Linked DNA regions of Homo sapiens: all the other regions are linked to region 5. Evidence: promoter capture Hi-C in 16 types of primary human blood cells and fetal thymus (Javierre and others, 2016). All regions are on one chromosome and are shown on one strand. Each heading gives the region's core, a stretch centred on a gene start or on the middle of the fragment in contact. The rest is flanking DNA. Distances are from core to core; before and after follow the strand shown. Region 1 has its middle 7.3 kb from the start of OR10P1. Region 2 holds the start of CBX5 (chromobox 5). Region 3 has its middle 6.4 kb from the start of TMT1B. Region 4 overlaps BLOC1S1 (biogenesis of lysosomal organelles complex 1 subunit 1). Region 5 holds the start of TESPA1 (thymocyte expressed, positive selection associated 1).

Evidence for each region. The method cuts DNA at HindIII sites, captures the fragments that hold promoters and counts their contacts. A CHiCAGO score of 5 or more calls a contact.
Region 1: a contact is called between a fragment that was not itself captured here and the fragment with the promoter of TESPA1 in region 5, in 2 of 17 cell types (total B cells and naive B cells). The highest score is 6.6, in total B cells.
Region 2: the fragment with the promoter of CBX5 here is called in contact with the fragment with the promoter of TESPA1 in region 5 in 1 of 17 cell types (fetal thymus); the score reaches 5.7 in fetal thymus.
Region 3: a contact is called between a fragment that was not itself captured here and the fragment with the promoter of TESPA1 in region 5, in 1 of 17 cell types (total B cells). The highest score is 5.6, in total B cells.
Region 4: a fragment that was not itself captured here is called in contact with the fragment with the promoter of TESPA1 in region 5 in 1 of 17 cell types (erythroblasts); the score reaches 5.0 in erythroblasts.

Annotation. Positions count from the first base shown.
Region 1 is chr12:55,642,825-55,645,573 of GRCh38, forward strand. No RefSeq gene overlaps it. Among named protein-coding and RNA genes, the nearest start is that of OR10P1, 7.3 kb to the left of the region's middle. The HindIII fragment of the contact is 3,323 bases long and covers 1-2,749 here.
Region 2 is chr12:54,278,773-54,281,472 of GRCh38, forward strand. It overlaps CBX5 (chromobox 5), which reads right to left and starts at 1,350. Exons shown (of 5, transcript NM_012117.3): 1 at 1,236-1,350. It overlaps HNRNPA1 (heterogeneous nuclear ribonucleoprotein A1), which reads left to right and starts at 1,954. Exons shown (of 11, transcript NM_031157.4): 1 at 1,954-2,050; 2 at 2,614-2,700. The coding sequence starts at 2,036. SCAT2 (S-phase cancer associated transcript 2) reads left to right here. Exons shown (of 2, transcript NR_157844.1): 2 at 1-291. RefSeq lists enhancers at 713-802, 955-1,714, 1,233-1,282, 1,573-1,662, 1,673-1,732 and 1 more and a cis regulatory region at 749-2,700. The HindIII fragment of the contact is 6,592 bases long and covers 1-2,700 here.
Region 3 is chr12:55,673,898-55,676,771 of GRCh38, forward strand. No RefSeq gene overlaps it. Among named protein-coding and RNA genes, the nearest start is that of TMT1B, 6.4 kb to the right of the region's middle. The HindIII fragment of the contact is 3,457 bases long and covers 1-2,874 here.
Region 4 is chr12:55,717,074-55,719,773 of GRCh38, forward strand. It overlaps BLOC1S1 (biogenesis of lysosomal organelles complex 1 subunit 1), which reads left to right. Exons shown (of 4, transcript NM_001487.4): 3 at 2,018-2,150; 4 at 2,426-2,630. The coding sequence ends at 2,536. It overlaps BLOC1S1-RDH5 (BLOC1S1-RDH5 readthrough), which reads left to right. Exons shown (of 6, transcript NR_037658.1): 3 at 2,018-2,150. Among named protein-coding and RNA genes, the nearest start is that of RDH5, 2.0 kb to the right of the region's middle. RefSeq lists enhancers at 608-767, 868-917, 1,028-1,187. The HindIII fragment of the contact is 2,957 bases long and covers 1-2,700 here.
Region 5 is chr12:54,983,386-54,986,085 of GRCh38, forward strand. TESPA1 (thymocyte expressed, positive selection associated 1) reads right to left here and starts at 1,377. Exons shown (of 11, transcript NM_001136030.3): 1 at 1,200-1,377. LOC107984515 (a long non-coding RNA gene) reads left to right here and starts at 1,466. Exons shown (of 2, transcript XR_001749161.2): 1 at 1,466-1,580. The HindIII fragment of the contact is 6,023 bases long and covers 1-1,818 here.

The DNA of each region.
Region 1 (2,749 bases), core at 149-2,648, 660 kb after region 5:
GTGGGGGGCGGGGACAGGAGAGCCTCCTCTGCTGGAAGCCACTTCCTCTCATCTGGACTGGGTATGCAAATCTTGAGAAAGAAAATGCAATTTTTCCCGTCTCATAAGCAGAGAAGATTCCAGAAGCCACTTGCTGTTGCCTGGCAGGGCACAAGGTCACCCTTCTTATCCTGCCTCAGGGTTACATCGGCTTTCTCGCTCTGCGCCACCAAATCCACAGGCACCTTCATCAGGTCACCACCCCGTAGAGCACCACACTGGTCCATTCTATTGATGAAACTACACTGACAGCATCTGGAGAGAGGAAAATGGCAGGTACCCTTGATGTACATTTATAACTAGGAGATAAATTTAGGGGCCTGGCCTCTCTGTGAAGGTTTTCTGGGGATATCAGGGTATCTCCTCAAATGTTACGGACAAGTTGCCTCACCTTTTGCTCCCTACAGTAAGAAAAGACCTCTTGTAGTTATCTGGATTTGGGAAGCGACATATAGTCCTTTTGGGTTGGCTGCTTCAACCCACTTATCGGATGTCCTAAAAGCCAGAGGAAGCAAATGCTCTCCCAGTGGCCCACGCTGCAGTTCCGCCACTGGGCCTCCCAACTGCCCAGCAGACTGTAAGAGGCTCAGTGTCAGTGGCACTGGAGCCTGCGGTAAATCCAAGAGGTGAATCACAGATTTGGGAGCCAAACCTTGCCCTTTGGGGCAAACAATCAAGATCCTTTTGTGAAACTGCTCTTGGGCTGCTTGTAGGCAACAGTATACACTGAACAGCTGACCACTGGACACCAGGTGACTATGGAACAGTATTGCACACCATGAATTGGGTGTAATTTGACCCACTCACCCTAAAGTTAAGTATCCCCAATAGCACTTAATAGACAAGTGAAATTGGTAAAATCAGATGGGGCCCAAGCACAGCCTGAAAACAAAAGGAGGTTGCATATACCTCATTCTCCAGCAAATCAATCTTTTTGGGGGGTATGGGGATGTGGGAGCAGGAGCTTGCTCTGTCGCCCAGGCTGGAGTGCAGTGGTAAAATCAAGGCTCATTGCAGCTTCGAACTCCTAGGCTCAAGTGATCCTCCCGCCTCAGCCACCCAAATAGCTAGGACCACAGGCACATGCCATGACCTCCAACTAATTTTTTATTTTTACTTTTGTAAAGATGAGGGCTCGCTATGTTACTCAGGCTGGTCTTGCACTCCTAGCCTCAAGTGATCCTCCCACCTTGGCCTTCCAAAATTGCTAGGATTACAGGTGTGGACCACTGAGCTTGGCCCCAGTTCATTCTTAATAGGCCTACAAATAGAAGGGTCATAATGGCAGGAAAGGAGGCCATCCATGAACTTAACAGGGTCTTCCCCCCAAGCTCTAAGTGGATAGAGCTTGTGGGGGACAAAGCTCTATCCACTTCTACAGAAGCCATTAGGCCCAAATTTGTGGATTCTCTAAACTCTGACAGCCGAGACACAGCCCTGTGATCTTAGCTAGTCCTAGCAGATGCAACTGCCTAAGACTTTGAATCAGGTGCAAGTGATTCAAAGAAGTAAAGTTTACAATTCATTTTGGTGATGACCACAGTGGCATCCAGGCCCACCAGCAGCAGCCTCAGCACCTGCACGGTGCCAGAGGAGTCACGGGCAACAGTGCCAGCAGTGCCTGCAGCATCCTAGCCAACCACCCCTGTGCTATGACCTGGCCTGTGGTTCTGGCCTCTCAGCTTCTTTTGGTACCTGATCATTGCCTAAGCCTGGTTTTCCAAGATTCCTCTCAACTCCTTGAGCTACCAGAGTCAGGTTTTCTCTAACCCAGAATTGTTCACCTGCTTCTTTCCTCCTCTTTCATGGCCCCTATGGCCCATCTGATCCTTTCTGAGTTATCCCCCTCATAGCTCACACCAGGATTTCCTCTTTTCCAAAAACTCTCTTCCCCAAATCCCACACACACTTCTCCCCTTCCTCTCTTCAGCATTAACACATTTTAAACTTTCCAGCAACTTTAGGGGGATTTTTTTAACAAAGTCTCAAACTTTTAAGACATCTAAAAACTGCTCTGAAAGTCATCATCAAAGTTCATAAGAAGGCAAATGATAGTAGTAGCAATTATAGTATAATCGAAATAGATTAGTGAACACTATTACCTACATGCACTGTGCTAAGCAGCTTTCATATATTCATTTACTTATCGATTCAGCAAATATTTCCTGAATACCTACTATGTGCCAGGCACTAGGGATACACTGGTAAACAAGACAGGCAGTTTCTTCCCTTCCCCCTTTATGGTACATCTCATTTTAATGAAAGGAGAGAAGCCACAAACAAACAAGTTAATTTATATGTCAAGTGATGATGTGGTATAGAATGGCTGAGGAAGGCTGTGTTTAATCCTCACAGCAACCCTGTGATACATAGAAACGATTATTGTCATGACTTTACAGATGCAGAATTTAAGGCACAAAGATGTAAAGAAAACTCCCACTATTTCAGATGGTAAGTGATGATCAGGATTTGATCTTGGACTTGCCAACCACCAGAGGCAAGCTCCAAACCACCCTGTCATAGTGCTATCTACAACCCAGCCTTCTGGTCAGCCTTCCTTAGCCAGCTCCTTATCCTCTACTCCTAGACTTTCCACTAAAAGAAAGAAATCTATTCTCTTCTTTGATGTCCCCTACTCCCAAGGACAGACATGGGCTTTTTGCTCCCTGGTATTCATAGTGTACTTCCAGTCCAAATATGTCCCACCCAG
Region 2 (2,700 bases), core at 100-2,599, 700 kb before region 5:
CAGAACCCTAAATATTACCCTCTTTGTTTCTTTTTTATTCCAAAGTCAGATATCCTCAAAGGAACAGCAAAAAGAGGGACTTTAGGATATCTTCAATGGTGTAAAGAAAAGAAATATATGAAAGTTCCCGGGAGAAAGAGACTAAAATAAAAGCACTGGGCACATGGATTACATAAAACAGAAAAGGGGTTGTAAGTATGTGATTATGACTAGAAACACAAAACAATCGACTTCATTTTTTATTTAATTTTAATCACAAATTATTAACCTTGCAAAGTTTTAAACATTAAAGATCTAATCTGCCTCGATCCTACTGTGTCCCTAGGATTGACACTTTGGTGTGTAGCTTTCCAAAACTTTTCTGTGGACCTACAAACATATTTGTCAGTAGAAATATGCACTATCAGGAAGGAGATATTTCTTGAACGCCTTTCCATGACAGTACATAGAGATTTCTCCCATTCGTTCTAACATTTTAACAGTCTTCCTAAAGAAGCGACTTCTGAAAGTATTATTTAAAAACAAACAAACAAAAAAAAACAACTCCTGTTCCCCAAACCTCAAGTGGTGAGGGGGCGGGGGAAAAATGCTCAAGTCGAGGAATACAGGAGCAAACTTACGCTTTCAAGGAGGTGTATGGGACTGAGGCCTAAAGGCTTCGTTAGAGAAGTCATCGTGGATAAAACATCCACCCTCACACGCCATTACAGGCACCGACTCCCCTTCCTCACAACCCCAAATCGAAGACCTCCCTCTTTTGGAGAGCCGATTGGACGACTGGTCCCAGCGCTTTCCTTAGGCTGTCCGTCTACTGGTTCCAGATTCGTTCCATCCGTTTAACCGCCCGATCCCGCATTCCCCATTGGAGTCAAACCGCTGCCTCCTGGAGAAGCCCAACCTACCGCGCGCTTCCTGCTCACTGGCTCAGTGAGACGCTGCTCAGAAGGGGAAAACCCGTCTCCCACATTCCGATGGCCCAAGGGCCGATCAGTCGGCAGCTCAAGGCAGACCCAATTGGCCTATACACAAGCCAGTCAAAGTCTTCGGCTGCACAGCTCCAAAGAACCTACGGGGATTAAAACATCCCGCCCCCTGTTCTTCTATTGGTTGGCCCGACCCACCGCTGCCCCTTCACTATCCCCCCACCCCGCCGTCCATTCATTTCACACAATAACGGGCCCAAATGGAGTCAGTTCAAGACCTACTATGGGTAGATAAGACTGTCTGCCACTTACCCGGGATTGAGAGTGATCACTCACGCTAACGTCTGCCCTGTTCCTGTATGGTGAGGCCGCACCACAAGCCACCACCGCCGCCGCCTTCTGCGCAACGCCAACCGCCCGCCAAAACGGATCCTTCCCTGCGCCTGCGCAACCAATCCTGGGACCGGACCTTTTTTCTCCGCCCACTACGCATGCGCAAAGCTAGGACAAACTCCCGCCAACACGCAGGCGCCGTAGGTTCACTGCCTACTCCTGCCCGCCATTTCACGTGTTCTCAGAGGCAGGTGGAACTTCTTAATGCGCCTGCGCAAAACTCGCCATTTTACTACACGTGCGGTCAACAAGAGTTCATTGCAAAAAAATTGTTACCTCCTGGCTGCTTGTCTAATACATAGTGTTAATCATGCTTTGCCAAGCGACTTGACTGTAATATTTGCGCGTGGAAGATTAAAAAGATGTTAAACACCCAAGGTAGATTCAAATGTGAATGATTGGTCGGTTGGCCAATCAGACTGGTTAACAATAACATTACTCGGGAACCAATGGACTCCAAGGGGTGGAGACGGCGTAGAACGACCGAAGGAATGACGTTACACAGCAATGTGGCACCACAGGCCAATAGCAGGGGGAAGCGATTTCAAGTATCCAATCAGAGCTGTTCCAGGGCGGAGTCTACCAATGCCGAAAGCGAGGAGGCGGGGTAAAAAAGAGAGGGCGAAGGTAGGCTGGCAGATACGTTCGTCAGCTTGCTCCTTTCTGCCCGTGGACGCCGCCGAAGAAGCATCGTTAAAGTCTCTCTTCACCCTGCCGTCATGTCTAAGTCAGAGGTGAGTTAGGCGCGCTTTCCCACTTGAATTTTTTCCTCTCCCTTTCCTGAATCGGTAAGATGCTGCTGGGTTTCGTTCCTTGCACCAGCCCATTCTACAGTTCCTTCGGTCGCTGCCACGGCCTACCCCTCCCAAAGTTCAAGTCGCCATTTTGTCCTCTTGATCGCCATGAGGCCGCTCTCCGCCAACCATGAGTTATCATGCGGGACTCGTTACTCGTAGCAAAATTCTTAGGCACACAGGATCTTTGTCTTTTTTTAAACCTTGCCTTGGTGAGCGAGTTTTCTAAAGAGCGATTAGTCCCATTGTGGAGATGCACCCCTACCGCCCAAGCCTTTGTTGCGCGTGCGTCGGAAGGCGACTAGGGACGCATGCGCTTGCGATTTCCTAGCACTCCCAACTCCAGCATACGGCCTCCCTTGATAGGCAGAAGCACGTGTCTTGTTGCGACCTGAACGAACAATAAGTGCTAGGTACACAGTTGGTGTCTAGTTTTTCTTTTCCTCGATGGAAATTGTTTCGTGTTGTAGCCCATTTAACACTTCCCCCTCCCCCCACTCTAGTCTCCTAAAGAGCCCGAACAGCTGAGGAAGCTCTTCATTGGAGGGTTGAGCTTTGAAACAACTGATGAGAGCCTGAGGAGCCATTTT
Region 3 (2,874 bases), core at 72-2,571, 690 kb after region 5:
AGGGTAGCATGAGAGGTGGACAGGGGCCAGATCACACAGGGCCTTATGGGCTACAGTAAGGAGTTCAGATTTTGTACCAAAGATAATGGGAATCCACTAAAAGGTTTTAAGCAGTGGGTGAAAGTGGAGAGACAGTTAATGAGGCCCTTGCAGTGGGCCAGGCAGCGGAGGGTCATGATCTGGTCTAGGGTTATGCCAGTGGAGATGAAAGAAATGCATGAAATTAATGAACTGGGAAATAGAGCTGACAGGACTTGTGAGTAACTTGAAAGTTATATATATATTGGCCGGGCGCGGTGGCTCACACCTGTAATCCCAGCACTTTTGGAGGCCAAGGCAGGCAGATCACGAGGTCAAGAGATCGAGACCATCCTGGTCAACATGGTGAAACCCTGTCTCTACTAAAAATACAAAAATTAGCTGGGTGTGGTGGTGCGTGCCTGTAGTCCCAGCTACTCAGGAGGCTGAGGCAGGAGAATTGCTTGAACCCAGGAGGCGGAGGTTGCAGTGAGCCGAGATCGCCCCACTGCACTCCAGCCTAGCAAAAGAGCGGGACTCTGCCTCAAAAAAAAAGAAAAGAAAAGAAAGTCATATATATGTTATAGAGAGATACAGATGGAGATGAAATGACATGATGTTTGGGATTTGCTTCAAAATGACACACAGGAGAAGGAAGCAGAAAGTAGAAAAGGATGTGGATGGGGAAGGATTGGCTGTGGGTTGATAGTTGTTGGGATGAATGATGTATACATGGGGGTATCTTATACTGTTCTGCCAACTTTTGTGTATATTCAAAATTCTCCATTATACAAAGTTAGAAATGAGAAAAGAAAAGGAGGAGACAGAGAAGAAATAGAATAAATCCTAGGTTTTTGGTTGAGCAATCAAGAAGCTAATGGTGCCATTCACTGAGATGATGAAGAAGATGGGCAGAGTAAGACAAGAGACTTGGGGAGTACCGTAAGTGTCATTTTGGACATGTTAAGTTTTATATGTCCAGAAGATATGCTGAGGAGGAGGATCAAGTACACAACTGGGTATACAAATTTGAAACTCAAAGGAAGGATCTGCACTAAAGATATAAATGTGTGAATAATTTGCATATACATGGCATTTTAAACCATGAAAATGGATGGGATTTGGTGAAAATTATGTGTCAATGTAGGTTCATCAATTGTAATAAATGTCCACTCTGGTGGGGGATACTGATAATGAGGAAGGCTAGTCATGTGTGAGGACAAAGGGTATGTGGAAAATCTCTGTACTTTCCTCAACTTTTCTATGAAGCTAAAACTGCTCTAAAAAATAAAGTCTATATTAAAAAAAAAAAGATGAGGTTATTTAATGAGAGAATTTAGACAGAGAAAGACCCAAGACTAAACCCAAAGAAACAAAATTTAAAGGTCGAGTAGATGAGAAAGATCTAAAAAAAGAAGTTTCTAAGAAGTAACAGCCACGGGAATGTTATAGAAACAAGAAGACTGTTATGTTAGGACAGCCTAGATGAGAGAATTTTTCAAGAAGAAATAGTAGCCAACTATTTCTGAAGCTGTTGAAAAGTCAGATAAGATGAGAACAGGGAATATTCACTGGACCTGGCATGTGGAAATAATTAATAGGCTTGATAATAATAGTTTCGGGTTTCTTTGTTTTGTTTTGTTTTGTTTTTAGAGACAGGGTCTCTCTCTGTCTCCCAGGCTGGAGTACACTGACCCAGTCATGGTTCACTGTAACCCTGAACTTGCAGGCTCAAGCAATCCCCTTGCCTCTGCCTCCTAAGTAGCTGGGGCTACAGGCGCATGCCACCACACCCGGCTAATTGGCTAATTTTTTTATTTTTTGTAGAGAAAAACAACAGCCTATGTTGCCCAAGCTGGTCTCAAACTCCTGGGCTCAAGCAGTCATTTCCTCTCGGCCTCCCAAAGTACTTGGATTACAGGCACGAGCCACCACGCCCGCCCAAAGTCATAATTCTTGAGTCATCTGCTCGTGTTATCTTGGTTTCCTCACCTTCCATTCACTCTTTCTCCCACTCCAATCCATCACTAATAAAAATTTCTTGGGCTTGGCACAGTAGCTCACGCCTGTAATCCCAGCACTTTGGGAGACCAAGACAGGAGGATGGCTTGAGGCCAGGAGTTCAAGATCAGCCTGGGCAACCCTGAGAGATACCCTGTCTCTACAAAAATTTTTAAAAGTTAGTAGGCATGGTGGTATGCACCTATAGTCCTAGCTACTCAAGAGGCTGAAGCAGGAAGGGCAGCACAACCCCAGGAGTTTGAGGCTGCAGTGAGTCAGAATGGTGCACTCCAGCCTAGGCAACAGAGCAAGATCCTGCCAAAAAAAAAAGACTTTGACATAGATTTGTAAAATGGAGTTTTAGCTAAAGTGACATGTGGTGTCAAGAGGGTCAGTTTATTATTAACCTGAAATATATTAGAGCATATTCATATTTTGAAAGATCCATGGAAAGGCAGAGATTAATGATTTAGGAGAAAGAAAGATAAAATGAAGACAAGAATTCATAGCAGCATTGTTTATAGTACCCCAAAAGTGGAAACAACCCAAATGTCTATCAACTGTTGAATAAATAAACAAAATGTGGCATATCTGTACAATGCAATGCTACTTGGACGTAAAAGGAATGAAGTATTGATACATGCTACAACATGTGTAAACTTTGGAAGCATTATGCTGTGTGAAAAGCCAGTCACATAGGCCACATGTAGTATGATTCCAATTACATGAAATGTCAAGAATAAGTAAATCCATACAGACATAAGTAGAGTAGTGATTGCCTACGGAAAGGAAATTGATGGTACTGGGGTTGGGATGGGGATGGGGGAAATGGGAGTAAGTGGTAAAAGCACAAGT
Region 4 (2,700 bases), core at 134-2,633, 730 kb after region 5:
TGGCCCTCAAATAGCTGTTGAAGGGGTGGGATGTTCCACTAATTCCCCTATCCTACCCCGCCCCTCCCAGCTCTTTGTAGAGCAACTTGAGTCAACTCTGAGTCCTAGCACTGGGCAAGGGAGGAACAGCTGCCGTGGTTAGAGAAGCAGCCAGATTTCCCCTTCCCCACGTTAACTTCCCTGGCATTTACAACTTGATGCCATCTGCCCACCTCCCTTCACCCTTCCAAGTCCAGCTGTCACTTCAGCAGGAGGGAGAGCACCCTCCTTCATTACAGCTTACCACCCTCTCCTCTGCCTCCCACCCTCTGGCAAGCCTGGGGAGCAGCTGGCAGGAAAGAGATGGCAGAGCTGGTGGTGGTGAGAGTAGAACCTGTTCCGGGAGCTATGGCAGAGCCAGGCTGTCTCTTACCTTCCTATTGGGTCTCTAGGGACCACACCCTGCCCCAGCCCTAAATGAGAATGCAAGTAACAGCCAAAGACTTGGGAAAAAGCAAAGAACATTGTCTCTTGACCCTAAGTGACCCAGAAGCGTGCAGAGATGATGATTTGCTAGTCTGCCTATTGGAAGAAAGGCAGTATGGTACCTTCCACCCCAGGTCAAGTAGAACAGCTCGGTGTGAATCCAGAGACTGAGTCATCCAAGTGAGCCATGCAGGGGCTGGGGTCATCTTTGTTACTCATCTTGGGGGAAGGTTGAGAGAAAGAAAGTTGTGGCTGGGGCCTCTGATCTCCCTTCTCTCCAGGCAGCTCTCTTTACTCAGTGTGAATATAGAAGCAGGTGGTCAATGGGGAAAACCAGAAGTTCAGGAATTCTCAGGGGAGTCTGTTTCAGTTCCTACCCGACCCTTGACAGTGACCCAGCTGTCTCCCAAAAAGAAGGAACAGGGTCTGCCCTCCCATTTCCTCCCTCCCACATTGGCACCTCCTGGGCTCTGCTGTGCCCATCATTTGTGAGATTGGCCCAGGCCTTTCCCTCTTCTTTTCCTTTGCTAGATGCCACCCCACTTTCAGCTTAGAGGGCAGCTAAGCCAAAGCCAGATTAGAAAGGGTTTTGTGTTGCTGCCCACGCCTCCTCTCATTCCCCGGAAAGGAAAACAAAGGCTCAGTCTATCTTGGCCCCTGTCAGGTGTCCTGCCCACTCCCTCAGCCCCCACCAACCCCTTCCCCGCTCCAGCCCCCACACATTCCAGTGGGTGGGGGCACCGGATGTGGAATCTCCTGGCTGAGTAGAGCTCTGGGGTGGGAAGTGAAAAATTCAACAGCCAATAAAGGAGAACAATTATTGCAGGGGTTGGGGAGGGCAAAAAACACTGGCAGAAGGTTGGGGACACCAACCCCATGGTAGTAATGGTAACCACAGCCCATACCTTGATTGAAAAGAAAAACTAGTGCCTAAGGCAGAAGGGAGGGAGAGCATGTGTGTGTGTGTGTGTGTGTGTGTTTGTGTGTGTTCCTTGATCTGTGTGGGCAAAAGCGAAGGCTTGGGAGAGCAACTGAGAGCCGAGAAGAAACCCCTGGGATACCCTCTTTTGACCCAGGGTTCCTGGGGAGGGGGTTTGTACTCCCATCCTAACCCGGCTTCAGGGAGGGGCCCAATTTCCCTCTCCAACTTCTTGCATAGATCCCTAGGCTTCCAATCACTGCCAGATGTGTTCCTCCTGCTGGATTTTCCCAGTTTTTCCATGCCCCTTTTTCCCTCCCAGCTTTTTCCTCAGGGATATCACCCCAGGTTTTCCCTCCCTTCCCCCACTCAGCTGCAGGAACTCCTTTTTGGGGTTTGGAGCTGGTATGTTTCTAGTCAGCTCCGAGCTTGGCTCTCCTGGGAATCCTGGGAGTGAAAGGAAGGAGCTGGGTTTATTTGCATGTACTGGTAGTCATTTGCATCACATCCAAAAATGGCCAAAATTATGAGCCCTGATTCTTGGCTGAACTCCCACTGCTGCAATGGAATATTAGTCCCGGAGACCACCCCCAACTAGCTGGAGCTGATCTCCTCCCTCCTCCAACCCCCCAGTGTGGCCCAGGCCTACATGAACCAGAGAAAGCTGGACCATGAGGTGAAGACCCTACAGGTCCAGGCTGCCCAATTTGCCAAGCAGACAGGCCAGTGGATCGGAATGGTGGAGAACTTCAACCAGGCACTCAAGGTGGGCCATACTCCCTACCTCACCACCCCAATCCTGGGCCCCCATTGGCTGCCTCCAGTCAGGTTACCTCAGGTTTAGGTTAAGGAGGAAGTAGGGTGGTCCCAGAAACCCCATCTATAGCCCCAGTGTCAGAAAAGGTAGAGAAAGAAAGAAAAGCAGTTGGTGGGTCCAAGTAAAGCCTTTTCCAGGAGATGAATAAAACGTATTCCCCAGACTGGAAGCCATACTCTACCCATTCTGATTCCTGGGCTCCCACCTCCTCTCCCCCTTCCCAGGAAATTGGGGATGTGGAGAACTGGGCTCGGAGCATCGAGCTGGACATGCGCACCATTGCCACTGCACTGGAATATGTCTACAAAGGGCAGCTGCAGTCTGCCCCTTCCTAGCCCCTGTTCCCTCCCCCAACCCTATCCCTCCTACCTCACCCGCAGGGGGAAGGAGGGAGGCTGACAAGCCTTGAATAAAACACAAGCCTCCGTTTCTCTGTGGTGTGTTTCAGAGAGCTACTAGCTCCAGTGTCGGGGGTGGGAGTGGAAGGTTCAAAGGTGGT
Region 5 (2,700 bases), core at 127-2,626:
CCTGACTTCCCTTCTTCCTACTAACACTTCATGCTGCAAGACAATATTGTGAGATCTTTATCTCTAATCACTCAGCTGAACAACTATTGAGTCTGATACTTGGACACACAAGTTGAAGGTTCCTACCTCCAACCTCCCATCCTAGGTACTGCCCTGCACCATCTAGAAAGTCTCCTTACCTCTCTACTCAGGACCATTTGTGGTATACAGAGTCACTAGTACTTCCCTGGATATCTCCTGTAAATGCTCACAGTCTTGTCAAATCACTTCTGTGGAACTCTCCTTTCTTGTCCTTGCCCTGCCCTGGGGACCCACCCTTTTTCTTCCACCCACTGGTGAGCTTAGTGGCACAGAAGGGGCATGGGAAAACCCCAGGGTGGAGGATCTTTCCACTCCTCCATCTACCCCAAAACTCATGTAGGTGGTGATATGCTCTGCCTGCTACCACTGGGGCAAGGGGTGTTGGAGGAGCATGAAGCCCCCAATATTATGTAGGTCACTGAGAAGGCAACACATCCATCTATCTATCTTTGAGATGTGAACCCTGAAATCTGGTCCTGATGGTGGCTATCCATCTATCTTGAGCCTCCCGGTGAATTTGACCTTACCTCACTCAAGTGTGTACATCCTCCCTCGTAGCTGACCTCAATATATCTTGCTGCAGTTTATCTCAACAAGTTTCTTCTACAGCTTCTGAAGAAAGAGGTCATACCCACAGAAAGCAAAGTTGATTTCAGCCAGGTACTCTCAATGGTTGGAGCTATGGACACTAGAGTAGGGCCTGAAATGAAACCGGGAAACTTCTTCCTTGAGAACTTTTCGATGTTATAATCAGATGGAAATTGCAGCAACAATGAGTTCAGCAAGACACAGAGAAGAACTTTGCAGGTGAGAAAGGTGAAAAAAAATTCCTAAAATGTTATTCAAGTCATCAAAGAGACCCAAGTTTTGAGAATCTAGAAAGATTACCTCTCTGATAATAAAGAGAAAACAAACAAACGAAAGCAAAAGGGCACCCAGCATCGTTCTCCTAGGCATAATGATGGATGCTTTTAAGGTTGAAGTAAGAGTGGTGGGAGATTTTCTCTTGATTTTCCCTTGACTTGACAGCCTGATTTTTCTCTGACATGTTTCCTTCTTTCTCCTAGCATCACCCTAAATCAGTACAGCCTTGAAACTGAGATAAAGGCTGTGCTTACCTGTCTGCTGGTAGAAAGCTGAGTTTGAGGCAAAGCAGTTGTCGAAGCTGGGCCGAGGCCTTCACAGGTGTGGGCACAGAGGTGAAGCAAGTGAGAAAGTATCATGTTGTAGATTATGCCTTTCTCCCTGAACTCATTCAACTGCTGTTGCCTGCTCAAAAGGGGAAGCGGAAATGAGAACACACCACACACACACACATCCACACATGTAGATGCAGTCCCCGCCTCCTGGCCCAGCCACATCCTTTGCTCCGGCTCAGGAGACTGAGCGAAGGACAAACCATCCGTAGACACGGTGCTCACAACTAGGAAGACCTTCCTGCCCCAGAGCTGCCTCTGTCTTTCCAGAAAAACAGGAGATCTTTTCCTATTAAGGCAAAGGTACAGTCCATTTAAAGAGGTGTGTGCAGGAGTCTTCCTACCATATAACTAGAATTCCACTGCTGCAGATAAATCCTTCTGTCCTCAGGAGAGCTGTCTGAAAATGGGAAAGCTCTCTCTCATAAATGATCTGGCGTTTATCTCAGAGAAGAAGTTTCCAGTCGTATCACACACTTGAGAGGGCTCTGAGCCAGTCGCTCTGTGTTGATAACTTTCATACTCTGGTAAATTCCCCCGAAGCTTGTTTTTGAATACTGACTACTTTTTTTTTCTGTTAGTTTCTTAACTTTGTTTTATGTTCAAACCACTTCAAAGTTTTTGTTTTTGTAGTAAATGACTGCTTTCCCCAACGTTTTCAAAGCTGAACTTTTAAAATCGGTTACACCCTGAAGATGTCTTCAGTTTATTGGTTTTCAGTTTGGAAAAGGCTTGTTGAACTCTAAAAGGTTTCTCCCAGGCCTCAATCACTTTCACCCACCGGGAGCATCCAGCACTGCTAACTATCCCTCCTCGCTTCTCCAGTATCTCTGAACACTCTTCTCCGTAGGATGCTGCTGCATTTTGGATATCTTCTTTCTGTCTCTCTCCTGATTCTACTGTTTCCTTCTTTAAATCATTTATTTATGAATGTATATCACAATATTTATTCTACAAGGCACTCCTCTAATGTGTTAATTGTGACTGATTTTCACATGTTCATTACCTTCTTTCTGATTTTTTGGCTATAGGTATAGTTAGATTTTTTTTTTACCATGTTTCTAAATTCCATTTCCAATCATCAATGGGACAACTCCATTGAGTATCCATAGTATAGCTATAATATGGTAGAAATAATCCTAAATAAAATTCTTGCTTGGCAAATTAAGTTCTCAAAACATTATTTTCTTCAAGTATAATGTGAGGAAAATAACAATTCTCTCTGTTTCTCACTCAACCCTTCTCCCACGCTATTCCTTTTACGTAGGCATGAAAATATCTAACATATTTTCTCAGGACATAGTAGATGCTAAATATGTGCTTCTCTGAGAATTAGCTTCACAGTCAACAAGTAAAATGCTAAATCCAACACGCCCTAATTCTCTTTATTTACTATTCTTTTCCGTACAAATTAACTATAAAA